Regions from separate parts of the Homo sapiens genome. Here all the other regions are linked to region 1. The links are contacts of gene promoters, found by promoter capture Hi-C in blood cells and fetal thymus (Javierre and others, 2016). All regions are on one chromosome and are shown on one strand. Each heading gives the region's core, a stretch centred on a gene start or on the middle of the fragment in contact. The rest is flanking DNA. Distances are from core to core; before and after follow the strand shown. Region 1 holds the start of IKZF2 (IKAROS family zinc finger 2). Region 2 has its middle 15 kb from the start of MIR4776-1. Region 3 overlaps LOC102725082 (a long non-coding RNA gene). Region 4 overlaps LOC102725082 (a long non-coding RNA gene). Region 5 overlaps IKZF2 (IKAROS family zinc finger 2). Region 6 overlaps SPAG16 (sperm associated antigen 16).

Region 1 (2,874 bases), core at 1-2,500:
ATCTGTGATATGGTTTCTCAGGAACACCGTTTGGCAGTCCTGATAATTTCATGTGTTTTCAAATTTCAGCCATCCAGACTACACAGTTCACTATTTTCAGCTCCTTTCATTTTCCTTTTCCCTTTAATTATAGAAGTCTCTATTCCCTCTTTTCGCAAATGTGGTCAGGAAAGATACTAAATGCTACTATTTGTAGAAAGAATATGCATTTGTTTTTCTCTTGACGGTTCACTTAAGTTCTTTCCAAATAAACAAGCTGTGGTTGATAGTGATAGGTAACACTTCAAGGGTAGCAACTTTTTGTACTCATCCGTTCCTTTGACTTTGGAAGACGTGGCACATGCCCCGGGGGAGAAAAAGCAAGTCAACACTTTAGTTTTTAAACTTGCACTGTTAAAGCACTTTCAAAATAGTAATAGTTGAGCTTCATCTCAGACATGAATGTCTTTCTCAGTCTATTCCCCAGGACCCCTCTTATCCCGCTTCAGGTCCCGGTCAATGCGGTGCGCTTTCCGAAATGGGGCCGCAGAGTTGCCGGCGGAGACCAGTAGGTGGGAGGCTCCACGCACACTCCCCGACTCGGCCGGGACGCGGCTCCCGGACTCCGCGCAGGGCGCCAAGATCGCCGCCCCGCTCCCTTCCCCCGGCCTCCCCACCAATCCCAGTTTGAAAGAAAACTTCACGCGGCCGAAATGAACGTCACCTCACCGCTCCAAGCCTCCAGCCGGCAGAAAACGTGAGATTTATTATGACACGGGGAGGGGAGATGGGGGTCGCCGTGGCACACTCGGAAGCGGGTTACCTGGCCCCCGTCGGGGGCGGGGTCCGCAGTCCGGGGACCAACGGGCTGGGGGCGACGCGGCCGGGCGCGCGGGTGGGCGCGAGGGAGTGCGCGCGTCGCGGAGCCTCCGGGGCAGCACTTGTCCTGTAATCGATTGCCGAGCGCGCCGAGCGGCTTAGCGCGCAGACACGCGCACACGCGCCCGCCAGCCCGCGCGCGCGCGCACACGCGCTCTCATACACACACGCACAGGCGCTCGGGCCCCGCACACACGCACGCGCGCGCACGCACGTCCGCTCGCCCGCGCCCGGGGCTCCGCTGCCCGCCGCCAGCCGCCCGCCGCCGCCGCCGCCGCAGCCGCCGCCAGCCCGCCCTCCGCCCGCGGGCGTCTGCGCGAGCCCGGCCGGCGGGGGAGATGTGCTCGGGCTCCACCGGATCGGTTTCTCGGGGTTTGACCAGCTGTCCCGGGCTAACCCTGCTCCTCGCTGAAGATGGAGGAAGTAAAAACAGGATTACCCTTAGCTACAGATCCACTGCCTTAGTTTCCACCACCAACTGCAGTGCACAAACACACGTTAGGCACAGGAAAGAAAGAAAGACAGAGGACACATTAACAGTAAACACAAACAAAAGGGTGATGGGATTATTTTACTGCATGCACTGCTGAGGTAAATCTCCGCTTGGCTTTTGCGTGGTGAAGAACAGCTCTTGTTTTGTCTTCTGATTCATAGATTATATATAAATATGTGTATGATTTGCAAAGGGGGGAGTGTTTTCAAAGTTAAGTGTAATTATATAGCATCTCGTTTTGCACTGTGATGTGATCAAATGACTTGTTGCTGTTAACCAGTAATAATAATAATAATATAGGTATTTTTCTCTGGGAGGGATGGATTGTGGTTCTGATTAGGGTAATGATTTTTGTAAAGGACGCTCAGGGAATCGGGTTGAAGATGATGTCCTCTGCCTTAATTTATCGTCCCCTCCTTGTAATCTGTTTCTGGGATGTTAATCGATTAATCAGTTCTCATCTCTATAGCTGTCATGAATTTGGACTTGTTTTGCTTTGTTTTAACTTGAATTCCAAGAAGAAAGATTGGGTAGGCTGGAATAAATTGAAGCTGTCCAGATAGAAGGTAATATCCAGATCCTGTTGGAATTAAAAAAAAAAAAAAACCAAAAACCCTGGTATGACACATGTAAACAGGCAGCAGTTAAATCACTTTGACAGGTTCTAGTATGGGCGAAAGAGATGGAATTAAGATTTATTTATTTTTTTTCTTTTTTGCCAAGGGCCAAAAACAGTCCTGTGAAGTTGGCCTGGGTTCCTAGCTGGGTTCTGCCTGACTGTCCCTCCCCTCTACCCGCCCCCCCCCCCTTTTCTTTCAGTTTTCTTGTCTTAGCTTTTGGTCGATTCTTAAGGAACCGGTGGATCAAGTTTTTTCTCTTGTTAATCGCATTGCTATAGCACTGACTGACCTCTCTCTCTCTCTTTTTTTTCCTCTTTCCTGAAAGTACGTGGTGCCATTCCTGAGTGACTTTTCCTACTAGACCATCCCTAAGGGACGAGGGGGAGGGGTGGAAGGAGGAGGAGGAGGAGGACGAGGAGGAGGAGGAGGAGGAGGGGGGTGTTCTTCTCTCTCATTTCTTGGTTTTGTTTATCAGCCGATCTGTTTGCTGGATTTGGGCTTGGAATGACCCACCTGTAAAGTGCTTTTCCTTCCTCCTCCCCTTGAACTCTGCAGGGGGCTTGGCTTGGAGGGGGCAAGGGAGGGAAAGAGAGAAGGGGGAAACACAAAAAACTTCTTTCTTTCTCCCTCCGTTTATCTTCAGCCCGACATTGTCACCTCCTCTTTGAGGGGTTAGAAGAAGCTGAGATCTCCCGACAGAGCTGGAAATGGTGATGAATCTTTTTTAATCAAAGGACAATTTCTTTTGTATGTACATTTCGTTTCTCTTTCTCCTTTTTCTTTTTCCTTCTTTCCTTCTCTGAGGGTTAATAACCATTTCATTGATGGGGCAGCCTTCTTTCGCTTCTCCCTGACGTTTCTTTCTTTTTAATATGTGTGTGTTAAATGTGTACATTTTTAAAG
Region 2 (2,874 bases), core at 190-2,689, 240 kb after region 1:
TAAGAAAATTATGTGATTATATTACATGATATGCTTTGGGTTGAATAAGTGGAATTACTGAATACAATTTTTAAAAATGAGCACATCACTCTTCCTTTACTAGTAAAACTTTGGTAAGTTTCTTATAAAAAAGTTTAAAAAATATTATCTAATTTTAGCATGTGTGTTTGTAGTTGTCAAAATATAAAACAGCCCCTTCTGGAGGTATTTTGTTACGACATAGTTAATATATTGTCATAGTCAGCCCTTGTGCCAACCACTTTGGTATTCTTCCTATGGGGGATTAAGCCTGACCAAATAACCAAACTCTATTTCTCCAAATATCCTGGGTGTTGCTCATTAGTTTTTCTACCCTTGATACTATATTTACATCCCATCTCTAGCTATACACCTTTTAAAACTAGGGCTAAAACGTAGTCAGAAATCCCAAATTGAGTTCCTTAGTACAACTGAACTGTGCTTTTTATAGGTTGCTGCTTTTAAAACGACTTTATTAAATGATAAAAACAGCAAGGATGCAAATATAGGAAAGACAGAAAGAATAACAGAAGTCTGGTTTACACACTGCAGATTTCTGATTCAACTACTCCTGAGTAGAACTCTGCCCTGATAAAATCTGCCTTTCTTACTCCAAATGCCGTTTTGAAGAGTATAGTGCAGGCCTTGCATGCCTATTCTATTTCCCTGGACTTTTTACATTCTAGTTTCTAGCCTTGTTCCACATGGGAGATGCCATCAAATGAACCACCCCAGAGGGGCTTCCTCCACAATGTCCTGACACTTTGTCTCCCTTAATAGTTAGTGAAGGCCTCTGGGAGATTTCTGCCTGCCTTGGTTGTGCTAAAGAGAAACAAGGGGGAGTAACGGTCTTTAAATCAGTTAAGGAGAACAGCCAGACTGGAGGACCCCTCACAATGCTAGCACTGGTAGTAAAAGTGTGACAGCCCCACAGAAAGATAAAATTGGGGGAAATGCCAAAGCAGCTGGATTTCGCACCTATCTTACCACAAAGCTTTTTCTTTCATGACTACATTTTGAGTTTCTAGATTTGGTTTTAGTAAAGAAAAAGGTTGCCTTGGTAAGTTGGTTTCAGTATCTTCATTTTACAGATTAAGAGAGACAGAAAAGCTCAGAAAGGTAAACAACTCATTCTCGGTTATATGAGCCTGAATTGGTAAAGCTGGAATTTGGATGCATTTACCTTTAAAGGGCATCCTCTTCTTTCTGTGGCATGAAGTTGTGCTGTCATCCGATAAGTCATGAGCCCCTCTTGGAGCACTGCAGAGTAGTCATATGTGGGCAGGTGGGCGCAGCCACCAACTAACTTCCCAGGACTTCTGAGAAAGCCCCTTTCCTTTGAGATTTATGTTAAGAAATATTGTTAGTGGCACCCTATCAATAGTAAGAAATAATTATTAATACTAACTAAAAAGTCTCTCTAACTAGGAGAAAGATTTTTTAAAAAAGGAATTAAAAATCATCATAAGAAAAGGATATGGTGAGCATAATATATATGGTAATAATATAGTATTTCATTTTTAAAGAAACCCTACATATTAATGTCTTCTAAACTTTCCATCTGATCCTTTCTGAAGATGATGAAAATATCAAATATGAAATATACAATCAATTCTCATAATTTGCAATTGTTACATCCTATAAAATTGCTGCAAATACTAAACCATTCCCCCTAAGGGAAATACAGGGTCAGGTTCTTCTGTGCCTTGTCACAATTTCATTAACTGATGAATACATAACCTTCTTTTATGTGTGTTTCCATTTAAAGACACATTTAGTATTATTGTTGATTCATTAACATTGAACTTAGAGCTGACAGCACTGTAATTTATGGGTGATTGAAGCTTATCTAATACATATATTTTCTCCCTAAGGCACATCACAGCCTTAGGAACTCTAGACAGCACTTCAGCACCGTGCTTGGGGTTCATTTTAAACTGTGAAACACAACAAAAAGCACAAAAATGCAGAAACAGGTGACAATAAATAGACTGAAAAAAGGCCACTTGTTTACAATATGAGAGCTGAACCAGGAAGGCAGAGCATGGTTTTGTTCTACCTCAGCTGGGACGTGATTAAATTTGTCCCTGCTCTATGCATGTTCGTGAAAGAACACAAAACACTGCTAGTATTGATTCTGGGGTTACAAATAGATTTTTGTGAGTAGGTGAATTCACAAACACAGAACCTGCAAATAATGAGAATCAATTATAAATGCAATAAACAAGTTGAAATGAGTTTTAATCATGTGGCTACTTACTTTCATATCCACATTGACAAATTAGTGGACTTAATCTTTTTTTTTTCAACTTTTATTTTAGATTCTGGGAAGGCATGTGCAGGTTTGTTACAAACCTTTATTGTGTAATGTGAGGTTTGGAGTGTAATTGAACCCGTCACCCAGGAAGTGAGCATAGCACCCAGTAGGTAGTTTTTCAACCCTCCCTTTCCGCTCTTGTGTCCCCAGTTTCTATTGTTCCCATCTTTCTGTCCTTGTGTACACAATGTTTAGCTCCCACTTATAAGCGGGAACACGTGATATTTGGTTTTCTGTTTCTGCATTAGTTCACTTAGGATAATGGCCTCCAGCTGCATCTACATTGCTGCAAAGAACATGATTTTGTTCTTTTTTATGGCTGCATAGTATTCCATGGTGTATATGTGCCACATTTTCTTTATCCATTCCACCACTGATAAGCACCTGGGTTGATTCCACGTCTTTGCTTTTGTGAATAGTGTGCGATGAACATATGGGTGCATGTGTCTTTGTGGCAGAATGATTTATTTTTCTTTGGGCATATACCCAGTAGTGGGATTGCTGGGTTGAATGGTAGTTCAACTCTTAGTCCTTTGAGA
Region 3 (2,874 bases), core at 98-2,597, 220 kb after region 1:
GGATTTGGGGAGCATCTGAGAACTATGAGGTATGCAGTAAACATGTGACTGAACTGCCTTTGCATGGATGCTATCATAAAATACATTACCAATTGGGTAGAGATAAATCTAACACACCAAAAGCAAGAGTAGAAAATAAAAACAAATCACCCTGCTGCTATTCCAAGGACCAGATTTTTTACCACAATTAGTACTGACTCTCTGAGTGCTATAGGCTATTGAGACAAGGAAGAAATCTATGAAGGGGAGTTAGGGAAAGCTTCCTGGAAAAAAAAAAAAAAAGGCTTGAGCTGTGCTTTAGGAAGATGTGCAGTGGAAGGAGGAGATTTCCATGGGATGGGGACATTATAAATATTTATATGCCACAGTCAAATACCTTGACTATGCCACAAGGTAACTAGATTTTTGGGCAGACATTATTCTGGGTATGCCTATGAGGATGTTTGGAAGAGATTAACATTGTGTAGAAGGAGTAAAACAGGTTGCCCTCCCTAATGTAAGTGGGTCTCATCCAATCAGTTGAAGGTCTGAATAGAACGGAAATGCTGACTCTCCCCTAAGAGAGAATTCTTTGTGTCTAGTGGCCTTTGAACTAGGACATGGTGTTTTTTTCCTGCCTTCACACTCAAATTGAAGCATCAGTTCTTTCTTAGTCTTGAGCCTGCTGGCCTTTGGAATGGACCACACCATCAACTGTCCTGGTTGTCAGGCCTTTGGACTTGGGGTGGAACTAAACTATCAGCTCTCCTGGGTCAACAGCTTGCCGACTCATCCTGCAAATCTTAGGACTTGCCAGCCTCCTTGATTGCATGACCAATTCCTTATAATAAATCTCTTCATATATGTGTGACCACATCCTATTACTTGTGTTCTTTTGGAGAACTCTGACTACTACACTAAGTAAAGACGCACAACATTTGCAAGACAATGCAAAGTTTGACCTGACTAAATTAGAAAGATTATGTTGTGGGGAAATTTAAGATAGTTGGTTTGATAGAGTCAGAGAAGATGAAGGAGAGTTGAGATGGATTTAGATTGGTGATGCAATTAAAATACTTACTCCTAAAGTCATCACTATCTCACTAGTCAGTGTTATCCTATTTTCCATTGAGCCTGAATTTGAGGATTTTGTCTCAATAGTGTATCTCCAAACATTCCCTAACAATCATATAGAGTAAGTGCACTAGATTAAACCTTTTGCAAATCACATAGGGATCTAGTTAAAATGCAGATAATGATTTAATAGACCCAGGGTAGAACCTGAGTTCTGTTGCTACTCCAAGGACCAGGTTTTTGAGTAAGAAACATTCCTTGTATAGTTATTGCTGCTTGAATCAGGGAGCCACTGAGGAAATACTACCTGGCCTCTGAAGGAATAAGGGCTGGTCCCGGAAAAAGACAGTATATTCTGGACTTTTTAAAAATTGTACAGTGCATATTACCTCACAAATATTGTCCTGGGAATGCATTTTCAAGAATTTGCAACATCAAAGAACAAAAATTAAGAGGAAATAAATATTCATCCAGAATATGTCATTTGAGGTGAGCATCATGAGTTTGTCAGAGACAATTTGAATCATCATTTTGCTAATATTAAAAGAGATGGCATTTTAAAATTTGAACTCTGAAAAGCATTTGCTGGAATCATTTATAAAATGGCAATATTAGCCATAATTGGCCTGGGTAAAAACTTGATAGGAGGAGATGGAGGGATTTAGGTAATTCAAATGGATCTTTCAGTTCGGTTTTCTCAGGGGAACAAGGCAGCATGTTGGTGGAAACTCTAAGGAAACCAAGTGGCAAGCCTTCTGAAAGCAAGGACTTGGATTTTCCTTTCAAGACATTTGCCAGAAGAGAAAAAAGCACAAGTGAAGAGATGGATTACGAACCTCTGATTTAGACTGTACCTTAGTCACTTAATGGCAACTCAAGCTGCCAGATCTCTTGTTCCTCCTGTTTTATGCCTTTTCTGTCACCCTACTCAACTAGTGACACTTGCTTTCCCACCAAGGCTCAGCACACCACTTCCAAGAAGATCTGGGCTAGGTGGGTGCCAGTCTGAATCTGAATCGCCCCCGTCCTGGGCTCTCCTTATCAAAAACACTTAGCAAATTGTATTAAACTGTTTTACTGTTTTCCCTTCTCCGACTCTAAGCTACTTGAAAACAATTATGGGTCACATATTTATTTTCATTCATTCATTCGTCATCAGTTATTTATTAAGTGACCTACCACATGCCTGGGCATGGTGATACAGTGGAAATAAGGTACACTCCATGTCCTTAATGAGTTTTGTGCATGAGTGCTGGTGCATGGGTGAGTTCTGGGCAAAGAGATCAAAGAGGGATAAGTGCTTTCTTAGGGATAAGGACAATGACTAAGGGTCATCATACGACAGGCATGGAACTTTGGCCATGGTAGTCTTGGGAAGCTTTCAGTAGGTGATGTAAAATGCTGAATATAATAAATGAAAAATCAATATTGATTGTATTTACTTTATCATCATTCTTAAACTGTCCATATGCTTTAGACACTTCTCTGTATATATACTTCATCAAACAAACAGATATGATGTGTGCTGTTTTTGAACATAATAAGAGATCTGGGGTAGTCTCAGCTGAGTTAGTATGTTGGCTCTAGGAGAGGCAGTCCCCACACCTGGCCTGGTAACTGTCACTCCTCAGTGAATGGCTGGATCTATGTTCAATTGATCTAATCAATTCAAACCTCAAGCTGCTAACCATTTCAACTCCAAGTGGCCAGATAATTGAAAACTAAGTGAATTTTACTGAATGGTCTAAAAAAAAAATGCTTTCATTCTTTAGAGTATATCTTTAGGACATACATTTAGCCTAACCCAGAAATACAGCTTAT
Region 4 (2,874 bases), core at 253-2,752, 180 kb after region 1:
TACAAGTGGGTAGAGAGACAGGTGCCAGAAGATTATGGGACTAAGAGGAGGCTATGGGCTGGGAACCTTGGGAAAATTTGGGGATAAGCTTGTCCTTGATGGATAGGCAGAGAACTAGAAAGAGAAAGAAAGATATTCATGGTCAGAGAAGTTCTAAGAAGAATGGTAGAGTTGCAGGAAAGTCTTATTTTTCTTACCTGTTCCTTGTATGTGCCCCCTCCCCTTACCTTTAAAGTGCAGTGCTGTCTGAGTTATGAGCATGGTGGGGAGGTGCTATCTCTGAATGGGGAAAGCCATTCCATTTCCTTTTTTTCCCATTCCTCAAGGCTTAGTGAGACCCGAAACGCTTGTCCAACATGTTGAGGTACTACATGTCTCAAGCCTGGCCTAAGTTCACACTAAAGATCCATGTATAAATTAATTTACCCATTAATTTCAAGAATTAACATTGAATATATTTTATATTTTAATTATAAAATTCATAGGAATACTATTTTTCCAGGAATGGTATGTAAATGGAACATATCAATATATTCTTTAAATTATTCTAAAGTCATGGTGGATAATTTAAAAACCTAGAGCAGATGAAAAGTTGTGAAAAGAAATTTATCATTTATTGGGTGCACGTCAGTTGTAAATACTGATTTGAGTGGTTTATATGTATAAGCAGATTTATTTGTTCCTTGAAACAACTTATTAGTTTAGTGCTGCACAATCATCCCAATATCATAGATGAAACTAGCAAAGGGAGGTAAAATAACATACTTAATGCCCCACAGCCAGTAATTGCTGGACCAGTAATCAAACTGAAGTAGTATTGACTCCCAAGCTTTTGCTATGGAATGTCTTAAGACATCATGTCATTTATCTGATTCCTTGTCTGTAAAAATCTAGGAGGTGGACTTAAATAATCACCAAGGTTTCCATCTGGCCCTAACATTCCCTATTTCGTGATGGTGTGTTCCTCATCTCTCTCACATATGCACCTTGACATTTGCCTTTATGTTAAAAATTAAGTGTTGGGTTCATATCTTCAATTCCCACTCTTTTTACATGGCTTAAATCTGAGCTATTTGTCCTCACTTCTAAATGAATGCTCCCTTTAGAGAAACTCTGACACCAACTGTTCTGTGTTTTGAATAACTTAGAGAGAATAAGATTCCAGGTCAGTAATGAGCAACCCATGACTCAGTTTTGCAATCTTCCCATATTTTCCATGTGATGAAGAACCTATTTTCAGGATACAATTAGAAAATTGCTCTGGATTATTACAAACCTTAACATATTGGTGACTAAGAAGTGCCTGCAATTTTTTTCACTGACACTAAATGGATAATCTAGGTTGAATGAATATATCCACTCTCACAAAAGCCCAAATAAAGCTATCCCCATGTTGAATTTTTTAAGGTGGCCTGTAAACAAGTTTATTTTTCTCGAATTGGTCTAAATAAAAAAGAAAATTGCCCTTTCTGGCACTGGCTCATGACATACAGCCTTGTAGGACACATGCATATTCCAGATCTTACCCAGCTGCCTCATACTGAGGTAAGACCTTTAACCACTGATGGTGCCTAGGGTCTGTTGGGTGAAATGTTGCTTGCAGCTTTTTTTGGAAAATGGTGGGATATATCTGACATTGTTTGAAAAACTGATGGTTATTAAATTAGGGAATTTTTTTGTCTGGGAGACTTCTAGGTAGTGGGTGAACATATTTACTACACGTTACAGCACTTTAGTCTTCACTGAAAGGCCAAGAAGCAAAGTATAAATATATTGGCAAAATGTAAATTAGTGCTAAGTATTCCATATAGGAAAGGGATAGGATAGTGGCTATGCATATCTTTGAGAAATTAAAGAAAGGTAAGAGAGCAAAGAAATATTTAAATAGATTGTTTAAAGATAACAGCTGGAAGAAAGTGCAAGTTCCAAGCCGATTTATTAATATTAACAATAGCTGGGTTATTTTAGTTTTAATACCTATCTCCATCATTCTAAATAGTCTGACTTGCAGCCAGACTACGAAATACCTTTAATGAGTTAAATCCAAAATAAAAATCCATCTGTTCCCACCATGCACATTTGTTTTTTTAGCTAATATTACATGGTGAGTATCTTCCTCTTCACTTATTAGCATAGGCTAAGATTCTCCTGTGGTTTTTTTCTCTAGAAGCTTGTCTTCTAAGGATTAAATACATATAAATAGATGCCGTATTCACTTTATTTAGCTTTTTGCTGTTGGGTACTTTTCATTTCCTAAATTTCTGATAGTTTCATCTAAGCTGAAGTCTGCATTTTAGGCCCAAATGAGACCCAGACAAATAATTTGAAGAAAAGTTTCCACTTCAGTAGTAACAACTTGACTGGAGAATATAGATCACTGAAGAGCCCACCCTGTCTCCTCTGCTAAAACCAGGAAGATTTAAGATCTCAGTGTATCACTTCTTAAACAAGAAGAAACATATTCTCTCTAGAGATGTAAACCACAAAGAAATTCAGTTCTGTTAGCTTAAGTGTCATATATAGCAGGATGAACACATAAAGTCTAAGGGCAACTCCGGGTTCTTTTATAGAAAGACGTGTCTCCCCTAATCTCAAAGTTAGTTTTAGTCAATCTGCATGATGTCGTACTGACATGAATCAACTTTTTCTAAATCTTGAGCGATAAGGAAAATGAGCAAGTTGGGTGGAGCTCAGAAATGAACAGAAAATACATAGCATGTACAGGCATGATTTAGACCAATATCAGTGAATATGACTTCTGAGTGAGAGAGGGGCATATTTGTAAACAATTTGCAAGTGAAATGAAAGAGGTACTGTGATACAAGTAAGCAGTGTTGAATTAACATTTTTGTGTTAAAGAAAAAAAGAAAGCAG
Region 5 (2,874 bases), core at 147-2,646, 150 kb after region 1:
TATTTGCAATCCCAGAATGATTGCTTCTGCTATTAGTTAAAAAGATACTATTCTTTTCTTTCTGTACAAGTGCAATACTCCCCTTGAAGTCTTAAAAACTATGGTGATTTTTTTTTCTTTTCTGACCTATTCTTCCTTTAGCTAATGACAAAAAGAAACTCATAAAAGTCATAGTATGTTAAAGGACACAACAAGCAAAGAGAAAAACACTCCACAATCAAAAGATTACAGAATGTGGAAACCACTAGTCTGATCTCATGGTATCTTTATTTAAGCTAAATTTCCATGGAAATTAGTAATCTTTTGCTTGAAAAATGTGTCCTAAAGTTGAACTTTTTACAGATTGAATCTTCTTAGACCCTCGCCCAATGCTCTAAATTAAGAACCTAATACTTAATATTTTTATTTTACTTCTCCCCTTTTAGAAATAAACTTTTAAATAAAAGCAAAGCACTTAGCTGAGTTTTAAACACTTACATATCACCTATTGGAGAAATTTTTTTTAAAAATATTTGGAGCAGTCCTGTTTTCATACAAATTTAAGTAAGAGGTATTTTTCTTATACATATTTATATGTAGTGTGCTAATTTTCTTTTTTTATACCTGTGTCCCTGTAGTAAAACTGCTGTAATATAAATACATGTTTTGTTAAAAGATAACATTTCTTTGGCATTTCTTTTAAAGGCAGTTACTGCATTTCTGCATTTGTACAGTATGTGTCTTGGCCATTTTAGATATTCTTTCTTTAACAATACCAAAGGTAATTAGACTATTTTAAAGACTAATTGCTTGACAGTTTCTAGGGTATTTTGTGTTTTAGAAGCAAAAAAAGAAAAAAAAATAGGTCAAACCAGTAAACCTCATTTTTTTTCAAACTAATAATTTGGGGAAATAAAAACTATTGTTTAAAAAAGAAATATATATATATATATATAAATATATATGTAAAGTTAAAATTCCATACCTTGTATGTCAGGTTTGCTAAGTGTAATGTAGTTTTTTTAAGGCTCAAATACCATACCTCAGAAAATGAGGTTTACTATGGAAATACTGAAACAGTCTTTGCAGCTGTGTGACAAGTCACTCTACTACATACTGATTTGGAGACCTCCGCTAAATAGTTTTATCACTGCAGACTAAAATGTGGGACTTGTATCTTCTTTGTTTTTAATGCACACACATACATGTTCTGTGCATGTATGTGGTTACTGTGTATATGTGTATGAGTGTTGTATATGCATGTGTGAGTGTGTGTCTGTATGTGTGTACAACTAAAGAAGCTGCAGAAACTTTGTAATACTTTGTGAAAAGGATTATATTATAAAGGTTTGTACTGTCTGAGTGCACAGCTACTGGAATAAATTTAGGGAATCTCAGGAACAAGCATATAATTTGTCCAAGATTTATTTCTTCTCAGAAGTGTAAGTGCAGTTTTTAATTCTGTATATTATTTAATATTTTACCAATAAAATAAACTTCTGACATAAAAAGTTTGCTATAAAAACTTTCTGGTGAAAATTCTGTACACAAACATGTCTTCCAAATACAGAAGACTAAATTGTTGACTATACCAGGCTTAAATTATCATTGCCATTGTGTATTTGTCACACTTCCAGTTCCAGAGGTTTGGATACATGTGATATCTGCAATCTACATCTCAATCGTTAGTCATCTCCATCATTACTATATAGTCCACCAGAGCAGAAAACAAAGTATTACATGATTTGTTAAGAATGACATCTCTGCTCTTTAGACAGCTTTCATACATATCTTATTTCACTTTTAAAAAAGAGGAGTGTACATCAGAGCCTATCCCCTTTCTATATAAGAAAATAGACCTTAGGAAAGAAAATTGTGACTTACTCCAAAGAGCATAGTAGTGCACTTAAATTACACAAGAGGTCTGAGTGCTCTGATCTGGTCAATAACACTACTAGAATACACTACTGCTATAGAAACCAGTATTTCTTAGAAGTCAAAGATAAAATTAAGAAGTCATAGCGATTGTTCAATCACACTGGCAAAAACTGGTTGCCAGTTCTGCTTCATGTTGTACAATCACTACGTGAGTCATACACATCTCTTTGTTTCTTAGATTTTACAAATGTAATTTATCTTTTGCCATGAGAAGTTTGTTCTGTTATAAACATCTTCATAACCAGAAATGCAAAAGGGCATATATGACTGCAAATTCATTTTATTGAGTGTTAGCTAGCCACTATCCTTCAGGCCAGTTTGAACTCCACCATCACATTTGAGATAGCTGTTAGAGTTTTTCCTCACTGATATGTATTTATAGAATTTCATGGATACTTACCACATTCCCCAGTAATTTCACTTCCATGTGTCACACAGAATGAAAAATACCATAAATTCAAATGAAATTTTCCTGCCTTGACTGTATCATAATTCAAAATACTAACCTAATTTGGGCAGGGGAGGTTGTGAAGCAAGTGAAATAGCAAAGCAAAAAGAAGAAAAACTTACCAAATCATCCTCCAGTATTAAATTTATAAAGGATTCCTTCAAGATCAGCAAGGAATGTCAAATTCCCCTGGTGTATTATATCAACAGGAGCCAAATGAAAAGGATTTCTTGAAAAATGTGCCATATGCTCTTGACTTTTCAATTGCAATATGGTCAGAGAAATTATAAATAATTTAAATCTTGATATGATTGTAAGACTTTTTATCAGCATGCTCAAGCCAGAAGACTGTTCTTGGGGTGTGAACCACATGGTGAAAGCATTTCATCTAGCATTTTAGCAACCCTCCCTCCTGCTATTAGGGGGTTCCAAATGGACCCGTTAAACTTCCAGGAAAATCCCCTTTTTTGTTAACACCCCTACTGAAATTTCCTGGTGTGTTTATTTAA
Region 6 (2,874 bases), core at 194-2,693, 140 kb before region 1:
CATAGTTCTTAGTCTGTCTATATGCAGGTTGTGTATCCTTTTCATTTGAATATACACGGGGTATGTATGTTCTAATATCTAAGAACCCATGCACAAATTAAGTTCCAGTGATAAGAAATACACTTTAGGGTTCAGAACAATTATAATACTACAAACATTTCAGAGAAGTACCATTTTATAACAGAAGAAAAAGTGGTTAACACATGTATCTAAGAGAATGTTAGTTTTAAAAAAGAAAAAGAAATCTATGCATCCACCTTTCTAAATGTTTTACTTACTCAACTACAATGTTTAGCTTTAAAAAAAAAAAAAGTTAAAAACCATACAGTAAATTTAAAAAAAGGAAAGGACAGGTGCGGTGGCTCACACCTGTAATCCCAGCACTTTGGGAGGCTGAGGCGGATGGATCACGAAGTCAGGAGATCGAGACCATCCTGGCTAACACAGTGAAACCCCGTCTCTACTGAAAATACAAAAAAAAAAAAATTAGCCAGGTGTGGTGGCAGATGCCTGTAGTCCCAGCTACTCGGGAGGCTGGGGCAGCAGAATGGCACGAATCCGGGAGGCAGAGCTTGCAGTGAGCCGAGATCGTGCCACTACACTCCAGCCTGGGAGACAGAGCGAGACTCCGTCTCAAAAAATAAAATAAAATAAGGAAAACTTCAATTTTAATTAAAGTTATCAGTCAACATTACTATGGCAATGAAAGACTAGATAGAACTGTTACTTAAGAAGACAGCAGCCTGGTACAGTGGCTCATGTCTGTAATCCCAGCACTTTGGGAGGCCAAGGCAGTAGGATGCCTTGAGCACAGGAGTTCGAGACCAATCTGAATAGCAGAGTGAGACCCCCGTCTCTACCAAAAACAAAAACAAACAAACAAAATTAGCTGGGTATGGTGCCGCACATCTGCAGTCCCCGCTACTCAGGAAGCTGAGGTGGGAAGATTGCTCGAGCCCAGGAATTTGAAGTTGCAGTGAGCTATGATCATGCCACTGTACTCAAGCCTGGGTAGCAGAGCAATACCTCATCTCTAAAAAAATAATAATTTTTTTTAAAGGTAGCATGGTAGAAGTTAAGATATTTATCTACAGGCTTGCTACTTCAATTACAGTCCTCAGTATCTCAGATAAGGGCATCAGTCTAGTGTGATCCTCATATTTCAGGGTCTAGAGTCCTTAATTTTGGAGTTTCAGAAAGAGTTGACTTTGGGACTCCATTCAGAGCTGATTAGCTTCACAGAACTGGCTTAAACTTACTGAACTCTCAGAAATTGCTGCTGGGGGTTGGGGAGCCTTTTTCATTGGCCAGTAAACTTACACCTACCATCTAAAAAGCCAAATCCTTAGTATTAGAATGCCCAGAGAGAGGAAATAATCAAAAGCTAGAGGAGCCAGATGTCCATATTGAGGGAGGTATGTAACAAAAACAATACCTTGAAGCTCCACTTTCCTAGGGTCCATGTATTCATTTACTATTCCTTGAACAAAGTCTCTTTAGACAAGGAACAACAAAGTCAATTAACCCTTAGCTTTCTTAGTACAAATTCATGCTGGCCTTCCAATTGGAACTAGGCAGTCCCAAATGTCTGCAGCCATACATTAATAGGCAGCCCTTCCTCACTACTACAGTTGAAAACCTCACCCAAGTTGTGTTGATTTCTAATAAGGGATTCATTCATTCACAAAAGACAATCAACCTTCTTTCTAGGTTCTGGAGATACCTACTTGACCCTTTACATATCTATCACATAGCTAAAATCTCACCTTATAGTTTATAATGCTGCAAGTATTTTTCTAATGATGGGTTCTAGAGAGGATTCATATACTCCATAACTCAATTTCTTAGTGTTCTGACAATAGCTAAGAACAATGTATATTTGTATCTCACCTTGTTGAAGTCTAAAACATAAAAGCAATGATATTCTGGGTTCCTTAGAAGAGAAATAGGTGGCACTGTTACAGCTAGGAGATTACAGGGAAAGGGTGTTGCAGGGTAAGAACTCTTTTTCCTGAACCCAGTGTGTAAACCATTATAAAGGACATGGGACCTTCATTAATGTCCCCCACAAGATGGATCCTGGCTGTTTCTGGTTTGGACATTAGTCTATTCATACTCTTCATAATTGAGTATTTAAAAGCAGAAAAGTGGGAGATTTCCTAAAGAATTCAAGTCAACTTCTTTCAAAGTCTTGCTCGATATTGATAGCTCATTGTCTAATGTACTAGGAGCATCTGTTGAGTGATAAATAAGGGAAATCCAGGCCAAATGCAGTAGATTAGAAGTGATTGAGTATATGTGCGAAGCAGAGGACATCAGATTTCTGATTCATCTGTGCATATTATAACTTTTATTTACCCACCATGATAGCTCAATTAAATTACCTGAAAGCAAAGACTTTAAACCAAAGGAAGTCTCACTTTGGCAACTATCATAATTGCCTTAAGAAACAATGTCAAACAACATTACACAGGCAACTCTTAATTAACCATGTGAAGAGTGCCCAGGGATACAGGAATAATTGGTATTCACAAGTAATCCTCAAACTTCATTTCAACTGAGAGTTGAAATGACTAAACCTCTTCCCTCAGCATGGAATATAGCAAAATAAACTGGTTAAATGTTTAACTGTGTATCCCCTGACTACCATTTGGTTAAAATACAAAATAGCAGTCAGTCAACCAAAGAAAGAAGAAAAGCAAATGGGTTGGATAATTCACACAACGGTTAGTAAAATCCTAAAAAGTTACAGTTGCTTATATGTGTTAAAGTTCAAATAAGTGTGATTATTTGAAAAAGTCTTTGTAAGACAGGTTTGCAAACTGCTACATCTTGGCAGGTGTGACTCAGTGATCTCCCTGCACATTAAGTAAA

The links. Contacts are between HindIII fragments. The CHiCAGO score rates a contact against its expected background, and 5 or more counts as called.
Region 2: a contact is called between a fragment that was not itself captured here and the fragment with the promoter of IKZF2 in region 1, in 9 of 17 cell types (M2 macrophages, fetal thymus, naive B cells and 6 more). The highest score is 16.0, in M2 macrophages.
Region 3: a fragment that was not itself captured here is called in contact with the fragment with the promoter of IKZF2 in region 1 in 1 of 17 cell types (fetal thymus); the score reaches 6.7 in fetal thymus.
Region 4: a fragment that was not itself captured here is called in contact with the fragment with the promoter of IKZF2 in region 1 in 1 of 17 cell types (total B cells); the score reaches 5.7 in total B cells.
Region 5: a contact is called between a fragment that was not itself captured here and the fragment with the promoter of IKZF2 in region 1, in 3 of 17 cell types (fetal thymus, naive B cells and total B cells). The highest score is 7.2, in fetal thymus.
Region 6: a contact is called between a fragment that was not itself captured here and the fragment with the promoter of IKZF2 in region 1, in 1 of 17 cell types (fetal thymus). The highest score is 10.0, in fetal thymus.

Annotation. Positions count from the first base shown.
Region 1 is chr2:213,149,988-213,152,861 of GRCh38, reverse strand. It overlaps IKZF2 (IKAROS family zinc finger 2), which reads left to right and starts at 1,250. Exons shown (of 9, transcript NM_001387220.1): 1 at 1,250-1,449; 2 at 2,615-2,718. RefSeq lists silencers at 660-1,019, 1,100-1,159. The HindIII fragment of the contact is 7,158 bases long and covers 1-2,874 here.
Region 2 is chr2:212,909,390-212,912,263 of GRCh38, reverse strand. No RefSeq gene overlaps it. Among named protein-coding and RNA genes, the nearest start is that of MIR4776-1, 15 kb to the left of the region's middle. The HindIII fragment of the contact is 850 bases long and covers 1,015-1,864 here.
Region 3 is chr2:212,930,862-212,933,735 of GRCh38, reverse strand. It overlaps LOC102725082 (a long non-coding RNA gene), which reads left to right. Exons shown (of 4, transcript XR_007088066.1): 4 at 1-850. Among named protein-coding and RNA genes, the nearest start is that of MIR4776-2, 6.0 kb to the right of the region's middle. The HindIII fragment of the contact is 2,172 bases long and covers 262-2,433 here.
Region 4 is chr2:212,968,640-212,971,513 of GRCh38, reverse strand. All of the region lies in intron 1 of LOC102725082 (a long non-coding RNA gene), which reads left to right. Among named protein-coding and RNA genes, the nearest start is that of MIR4776-2, 44 kb to the right of the region's middle. The HindIII fragment of the contact is 1,341 bases long and covers 832-2,172 here.
Region 5 is chr2:212,998,314-213,001,187 of GRCh38, reverse strand. IKZF2 (IKAROS family zinc finger 2) reads left to right here. Exons shown (of 9, transcript NM_001387220.1): 9 at 1-1,490. Among named protein-coding and RNA genes, the nearest start is that of MIR4776-2, 73 kb to the right of the region's middle. The HindIII fragment of the contact is 4,483 bases long and covers 1-2,874 here.
Region 6 is chr2:213,286,084-213,288,957 of GRCh38, reverse strand. All of the region lies in intron 1 of SPAG16 (sperm associated antigen 16), which reads right to left. Among named protein-coding and RNA genes, the nearest start is that of SPAG16, 3.1 kb to the right of the region's middle. The HindIII fragment of the contact is 3,262 bases long and covers 1-2,874 here.